Linked DNA regions of Homo sapiens: region 1 is linked to region 2. Evidence: promoter capture Hi-C in human tissues and cell types (Jung and others, 2019). All regions are on one chromosome and are shown on one strand. Each heading gives the region's core, a stretch centred on a gene start or on the middle of the fragment in contact. The rest is flanking DNA. Distances are from core to core; before and after follow the strand shown.

What was found. The method cuts DNA at HindIII sites, captures the fragments that hold promoters and counts their contacts. A contact is called where the count stands out against the background at its distance.
Region 1: a fragment that was not itself captured here is called in contact with the fragment with the promoter of ZNF443 in region 2 in 3 of the 25 tissues and cell types used here (H1 embryonic stem cells, IMR-90 fibroblasts and dorsolateral prefrontal cortex).

Annotation. Positions count from the first base shown.
Region 1 is chr19:12,178,820-12,182,796 of GRCh38, reverse strand. The region is part of intron 1 of ZNF136 (zinc finger protein 136); the gene reads right to left. Among named protein-coding and RNA genes, the nearest start is that of ZNF136, 18 kb to the right of the region's middle. The HindIII fragment of the contact is 3,876 bases long and covers 193-3,977 here.
Region 2 is chr19:12,439,109-12,442,857 of GRCh38, reverse strand. It overlaps ZNF443 (zinc finger protein 443), which reads left to right and starts at 1,837. Exons shown (of 4, transcript NM_005815.5): 1 at 1,837-1,946. The coding sequence starts at 1,944. RefSeq lists an enhancer at 1,389-1,658 and a silencer at 2,069-2,158. The HindIII fragment of the contact is 16,773 bases long and covers 1-3,749 here.

The DNA of each region.
Region 1 (3,977 bases), core at 881-3,380, 260 kb after region 2:
TGCTCACCGACCCTTCCCAGAGACAGTGGACTGTGCCCCCACCCCCATGCCTAAGTGCATTTTGCTTTTCAAGTTCTTGCATAACCTGGCAGAGGTGGGTTTTCCTTGTCTTTTGGGATCATTTTTCTCCCTTCAAGTACTCTGAGAGAATCCAGAGGGCAAGAATCATTTTCTGTCTTTCCCCTCAATACTGCCATCCAATTAGCTGACCACTAACATGTCTCCAAAGAATGAAAACTGGGGCTAGAGAAAAACAAGCTGAGTGTCCCAAGAGGTGAGCTTTTCAGAGGAAGAGTAAACCATGTCACTGCTTCTAGGTCCAAGGCATCCAGGGGCTCCCCTGAGGGGCCACATGAGCTGATACTCACTAGACCCTCCAAGAGACATGGAAGCTATGGGCTTCTTGGGGCAGCCCCAGTCAGTTCTGAACCCCAGGACCAGGAAAAGAGAGGACAGGCTGAGGGCAATCAACCCTGCAAAGTTTCCAAAGGGGAACCTCAATGCAAAGGCATTCTGATAAGGGTTTGCACTTAGAGAAGATAAAAGAGAGACACAAAGCTTTTTCACAATGGAGTTTCAGGTGGTTATTCTCTGCTTACCTCTCAGGCGAAAAGGTCACAAACATAAAAGAAATCTTTATAAAACTGTCATCCACTGCCTTCTGCAAAAATGATAAACTTAAAATATGACATCTTTCTCTAATGGAGAAGGAAGGACAAATAGTCAGCTGGGCATGGTGACTCACACCTGTAATTCCAGCACTTTGGGAGGCCAAGGTGGGTAGATCACTTGAGGTCAGGAGTTCGAGACCAGCCTGGCCAACACGGTGAGACCCCATCTCTACTAAAAAACACAAAAAAATGGCCGGGCGCGGTGGCTCACACCTGTAATCCCAGTACTTTGGGAGGCAGAGACAGGCGGATTGCGAGGTCAGGAGATCGAAACCATCCTGGCTAATATGGTGAAACCCTGTCTCTACTAAAAATACAAAGAAATTAGCCGGGCGTAGTGGTGGGTGCCTGTAGTCCCAGCTACTCGGGAGGCTGAAGCAGGAGAATGGTGTGAACCCGGGAGGCGGAGCTTGCAGTGAGCCAAGATCACACCACTGCCCTCCAGCCTGGGCGACTCAGTGAGGCTCTGTCCCCCCCCAAAAAAAATTAGCTGGGCGTGGTGGCAGGTGCCTGTAATCCCACCTACTCAGGAGGCTGAGGCAGGAAAATCGCTTGAATCCAGGAGGCGGACATTGCAGTGAGTGGAGATTGCGCCACTGCATTCCAGCCTCGGCGACAGAATGAGACTCCACCAAAAAAAAAAAAACAAAAACAAATGCAAAAACAAAACAAAACAAAAAAACCAAATAGTTGATAACACTGTGCATCCGAGAACAGAAGCTGGTGTTGGGGACTGCAGAAATTATACCTACAATTTAGCAGTTTGCTGCCAGATCAAGGAGAGTTAGGCCGGGGGTGGATTTGATACCCTGCTTCCCACACATTTGAGCAACTCAGATGAAACAGAATCGGATGCTGATGGCGAGGAGGCCTGGGCCCCTCCAGCCATGTCGGACCCCAGGCCCCTGCACACTTGCCATTTCCCACACTCGCCATTTCCCATCTTCGGGGTCTCCTGGGTCCTCCCTCCGGCTACCACGGCCAGCACAGAGCACAGAGCCAGGGCAGTGGAGCCAGGAGCCAGAAGAAAGGTAATGCAGCCAGCTCAAGAAAAGAAAATTCACCACAAGATCGTACAGGGTGGGGTGAGGTTGGGGGCAGACAGGGCTCTGAGGCGCGCCTGATTGGACAATAAGTAGGATGCCATCCTGGCACCCCTAACTGGATATAACTTCAGGCTCCGCCCCTGTGGCTTAAGGGGCAGAACACTTAAGATGTTTCAACAGGGATCCAACGTGGTTCTAGCACACACCGTATGCAGTGGTGTGCCTTCCTCCAGGTTCCAGATACCCATGTCCAAAGTCAGCATCACATATTACATGCATTAAAATTTTTAACCAATGCAAAAATGACAATAAGCCATACCTATATCTTTACGGGGAATCATTATTGTTAACCTCAAAAAGGCAGGACTGTCTATATTGCTATGCACTATCTACATCCACACTTAAGCAGTTCCTGAAATGGTGCTGAAGATGTATAAGAGGTGGAAATATAAATGACCGATGGTGACATTTCTTCACTCACTGATGTTGCCACCCTCCACAGAGAACATATACACACACCCTCAGCTTCCGTATTATCTCACACCATCATTTACTTTCCTTCAAAGTGCTTATTTCCTTCTTATAAACCAGTCTTACCATTTTTTCAACCCCTCTCCTTTCTCACAAAAATATAAGCACCAGGATTTCAAGAATTTATTCACTTTGTGTTCCCATATCAGAGCCTTCAGTGCCTGCATCATTTGTGCTTAATTCTGGATGTTCTGAGTCTACAGTTCTGGCATATGAGGCATATTGAAAAATTAGCATCAAGAGCATATTATCTGAGCAAGAGAGGCTTGATTAGAATAGTGATCATGTCTCTGTCCCTTGCTAGGTTTATATTCTGACAACTTTCCTAGAGGCATTAGCCTAATTTGACTAATAAGGGAGACTTTTAAAAATTATCAGTAGTTGGCCGGGGGCGGTGGCTCACGCCTGTAATCCCAGCACTTTGGGAGACCGAGGCAGGCAGATCACGAGGTCAGGAGATCAAGACCATCCTGGCTAACATGGTGAAACCCCGTCTCTACTAAAATTACAAAAAAATTAGCCGGGTGTGGTGGCGGGCACCTGTAGTCCCAGCTACTCGGGAGGCTGAGGCAGGAGAATGGTGTGAACCCGGGAGGTGGAGCTTGCAGTGAGCCGAGACTGCGCCACTGCACTCCAGCCCGGGCAACAGAGCCAGACTCTGTCTCAAAAAAAAAAAATTATCAATAGTTAGAATTTATATATTTCAACTGAGGTATCTTATGGGAAGCCATGTCTAATTCATCATAAGAAATATTTCAGTGTTTAGGTAATAAACTTAGCGCCACTCCATCTTTTTTACTTCTGGGTAAGAACTATCATAATAACCAAGGCCAGAAATAACCTTGCTTCTTCATAGTATACAATCCAGAGAAGCTTCTTGCTTTGAATAGCAATCAATACACCTGAAGCAAGCACACGTCCTAGAAGAAATTCTTTTGGGCTGGGTGTGGTGGCTCACGCCTGTAATCCCAGCACTTTGGGAGGCCGAGGCTGGCAGACCACCTGAGGTCAGGAGATCGAGACCACCCTGGCCAACATGGAGGAACCCCGTCTCTATAAAAAATACAAAAATTAACCAGGCATGGTGACCTGTGCCTGTAATCCCAGCTACTCAGGAGGGTGAGGCAGGAGAATAGCTTGAACCTGGAAGGCAGAGGTTGCAGTAAGCCCAGACTGTGCCACTTGCACTCCAGCCTGGCCGACAGAGTGAGACTCCATCTCAAAAAAAAAAGAAAAAAAAAAAAAGAAATTCTTTTGAGCGCTCTCCTATTGATACACCACACAGTCACGTATGGTTTACTATCATATTTATGATGACTTTTTTTTATACCTTCTTTGACAGGAGCTATGGTCCTGATAATCTTTGGAAAAAGGTTAAAAGCTTGATTTAACTTTTGGTATCATAAGTGAATGAGAAATAATTCTTGTGATAAAAACTGTGACTACATGAGCATGAAAATGAAAATTTATGTGAAAAAAACACACCTAAAATTGTATGCACAGAATATTGATTCACAATTTTTCTTTTTTTTTTTTCTTTCTTTCTTTTTTTTCTTTTGTGAGACAGAGTCTCATTCTGCTGCCCAGGCTGGAGTGCAGTGGCATGATCTCGGCTCACTGCAAGCTCCGCCTCCCAGGTTCATGCCATTCTCCTGCCTCAGCCTCCCGAGTAGCAGGGACTATGGGTGCCCGCCACCACGCCCGGCTAATTTTTGCATTTTTAGTAGAG
Region 2 (3,749 bases), core at 588-3,087:
GCTCCACTGCTGAATTCTACCAACATTTAAAAAAGAACTAATACCAATCTTACTCAAACTATTCCAAAAAACAGAGGAGAAGGCAATACTTCCAAATTTATTTTACAAAGCCAATATTACTTTGACACCAAAACCAGACAAAGACATGTCAGAAAAAGAAAACTATAGGCCAGTGTCACTGATGAATATTGATGCAAAAATCCTCAACTCAATACTAGCAAACTGAATTTAACAATACACCAAAAAGATCATTCATCATGACCAAGTGGGCTTTATCCCTGGGATGCAAGGATGGTTCAATATATGCAAATCAATCAATGTGATGTATCATTTCAACAGAATAAAGGGCAAACACCATATAATCATTTCAATGTGCACTGAAAAAGCTTTTGATAATATTTAACATCCCTTCATGATAAAAACCCTAAAAAAAAGTGGGTAAAGAAGGAGCATACCTTAACATAATAAAAGCTATATATGGCAGACCCACAGCTAGCATGATAATGAATGGGGAAAAACTGAAAGCCCTTCCTGTAAGATCTGGAACACAATAAGAATGCCCACTTTTACCACTGTTGTTCAACACAGTACTTGAAGTCCCAGCTAGAGCAATAAGACAAAAAAAAAAAAAAGAAAAAAAAAGAAATAAAGGGCATCCATATTGGGAAGGAAGAAGTCAAATTATCCTTGTTTGCATATAATATGATCTTATATCTGGAAATACCTAAAGACTCCACCAAAAAAGTATTAGAACTGAGAAATAAATTCAGTAAAGTTGCAGTATACAATATCAACACACAAAAATCAATAACATTTTTATATGCCAACAGTGAACAATCTGAAGCTACTTGAGAGGCTGAGGTGGGAGGATTGCTTGAGCTTAGGAGGTAGAGGTTGCAGTGAGCCATGATGGCCCCACTGCACTCCAGCCTAGGTAACAGAGCAAGACCCCATCTCAAACAACCAAAAATGTGTAGAAGGATGGTTACCAGAGGCTGCGAAAAGTAGTAGCGAGGAGTAGTTATGGGGGAAGTGGGGATGGTTAATAGGTATAAAAAATAGTTACAAAGAATGAATAAGACCTAGTATTTGCTAGCACAACAGAGTGACTATAGTAAAAAATAATTTAATTGTACATTGAAAAATCTTGAAAAATTTCATTGAAAAAGAGCATAATTGGAGCCAGGCGCAGTTGCTCACGCCTCTAATCCCAGAACTTTGGGAGGCCAAGGTAGGCGGATCACGAGGTCACGAGTTTGAGACCAGCCTGGCCAACATGGTGAAACCCAGCCTCTACTGAAAAATACAAAAATTAGCCGGGTGGTGGCGCGTGCCTGTAATCCTAGCTACTCGGGAGGCTGAGGCAGGAGAATTGCTTGAACCCACCCAGGAGGCGAAGGTTGCAGTGAGCCTCGCACCATTGCACTCTAGCCTGGGCGACAGAGCAAGACTCCCTCTCGAGGAAAAAAAAAAAAAAAGATATAATTAGTTTGTCAGTCCGTGTCCAGGAGGAAGAAGCAGGAGGTCCTATTGAGTACGGGCAGGAAATTCCGCTTAAGTGCAAATATAACCCGGGAGGATTCAGATCAAAGAGCAGGGAGGAAGCCCCCCCTGCCAAGGGCTGTGTCAGGAACTTGCTCATCCGGCTCCACTCAGCTGTGCAAGATCGCTTCTTCTGTCAATCAGCCCTCAGGGGGCGGGACCTGACGCCCTATCCAATCAGGGGCGTGGGGCGGGTTCGTGGGAACTGTCAATCAGGCACTGCCCAGAGAAGTGTGTGTGGTTGAAAAAGCCCGCGGCGTCTGCTCCACCCACCTGCGCTCGGCTCTGGGTTCTGTAGCTGAGAGACGACCTGGAAGTTCTGAGGCAGCCTTTGTCTGGCTGGAACACGCATTGGCAGCGGGAGCTGTCGGTAGGACCTGGGACACCGCGGAAGTCGGGAAATGGTGCGTGTGCTGGGCCGGCGTCCCGAGGCGGGGGAGGGGTTAGGTGGAACCGGCCGTAATCGGCTGTGGCTGGACCCGGGCCTCCCCAAGGGCGACTTCGGGATCTACGGACCCGGGTCCCCCTGGCGTAGGTCGGCCCTCGGCCGCAGGGTGGGGCTGGGCATGCAGCCGGGACCCCGGGCGTCCTGTCCCGTTCCTGCGCGGCGACTGCGGCCCCGGCGCCCTCTCTGGGCAGCTCCGAGCCCGCAGCCCCGGGTCTCCCCAGATTGTGCGGCTGTAACCAACACAGGTTCGCGGCCCGACTCACTGCACCGAGACGCCGAGGGCTGCAGCAGAAACGGTTTAACAGGAGGAGAGGGGAGGACACCCCAGATCCGCCTCCCTGAGGGATTTGGGGTCTGGACGGGGGCGGCTGGGTGTAGCGTCCTTGGTTGGTGGGGAAGTGAGGGGTGAATCCTGGGACAGGAGGTGAAGAAACCGCATTCTGCTGAGAGGGCTCCCTCGTGGGGTCTTCAACCTGGTTGGCGCCAGCCTTTCTGCTGGGATTCAGGATCTGAGAACTCCGGCGACTCTTGAGCAGCACTCGGAGATCTTATCCCCAGGCACAATGGGGAAGCCGGCGGTCAGCGTCTGCTGTGACCTGACTCTCAGGGAGGCGGCCCCTTGAGGCAGCGGGGCTGAGGGCACCTGTTTAATATCTAACTGCAATCTCGCCTCCAGCCTGGCTCGCAGTTCCTGTGAACCCGGTGAGGAGGCTGCACGGTGACGACGAGTCACCAGGTGGAATCCAGACTCGTGTGTGGGGTTTGTGTGTGGGAGGAGCTGTGGTTTCCGTGGTCCTCAGTCCTTTCTTCCTTTCCAAGGGCGACCGTTTCCCCTCTGAGTCTTCCAAAGACGTGGGCAGCAGGGTCTCAAATCCACCACTGTGTTCTCTCATCCTGACTCTTCCTAGGGCTGGCAGCAAATCTCTTGGTTTCCAGAGACTTCCCCAGGCTAACCTTCTGTCCTTAATTCACAGCAACAGTATGAACTGTTTGGCCCCAGGCGATATTTCACTAGTTTGTCATCTTGTTTTCAGCTAGCAATGTATGGCTTTTTCTTGAAAGAATTGTTTTGGGTTCCTGAACACGGTGGGTCATTCCTGTAATTCCAGCACCTTGGGAGGCTAAGGCAGAGGTATTGCTTGATCCCAGTAGTTCCAGACCAGCCTGGGCAACATGGCAAGACTTTGTCTCTAGTGTAAATGATAATAATAAAATTAGCTGGGCTTGGTAGCTGGCACCTGTAGTCGCAGCTACTCCTGAGGCTGAGGTGGGATGATGGCTGGAGCCCAGGAGTTTGAAGTTGCAGTGAGCTATGATCGTGCCTCTGCATCCCAGCCTAGGCAACAGAGGCCGACCCTGTCTCAAAAAAAATGGATGTCCACAGCTGCCAAGTCTCTTGGAGGGTCTAGTGAATATCATCCCCTGGGTCACTCCTCCCAGGGGACAGCCTGAGATGGAAGGTGTGGCCCCCTGGGGAGCAACTGGATCCACTGGGATGGGAGGAATCTTCTGGTATATAATTCCTGTAAAAAGCTAACTCCTGGGACACTCACCTTTTCTTCCCAACCCTAGTTTCCATTCCTTGGAGACACATGACTGAACAGCCAATTTCATGGTCATATTCCATAGGAAAAAAAACGGAAATGATTTTTGCCTTCTGGACTCTCTCAGACTTAAAAGGTAGAAAGTTATATCTAAGGACTGGAGAACCTGCCCTTTGAGGTAGTGCAAGATCCTGAAAAGCACACAAGGCAGTGTC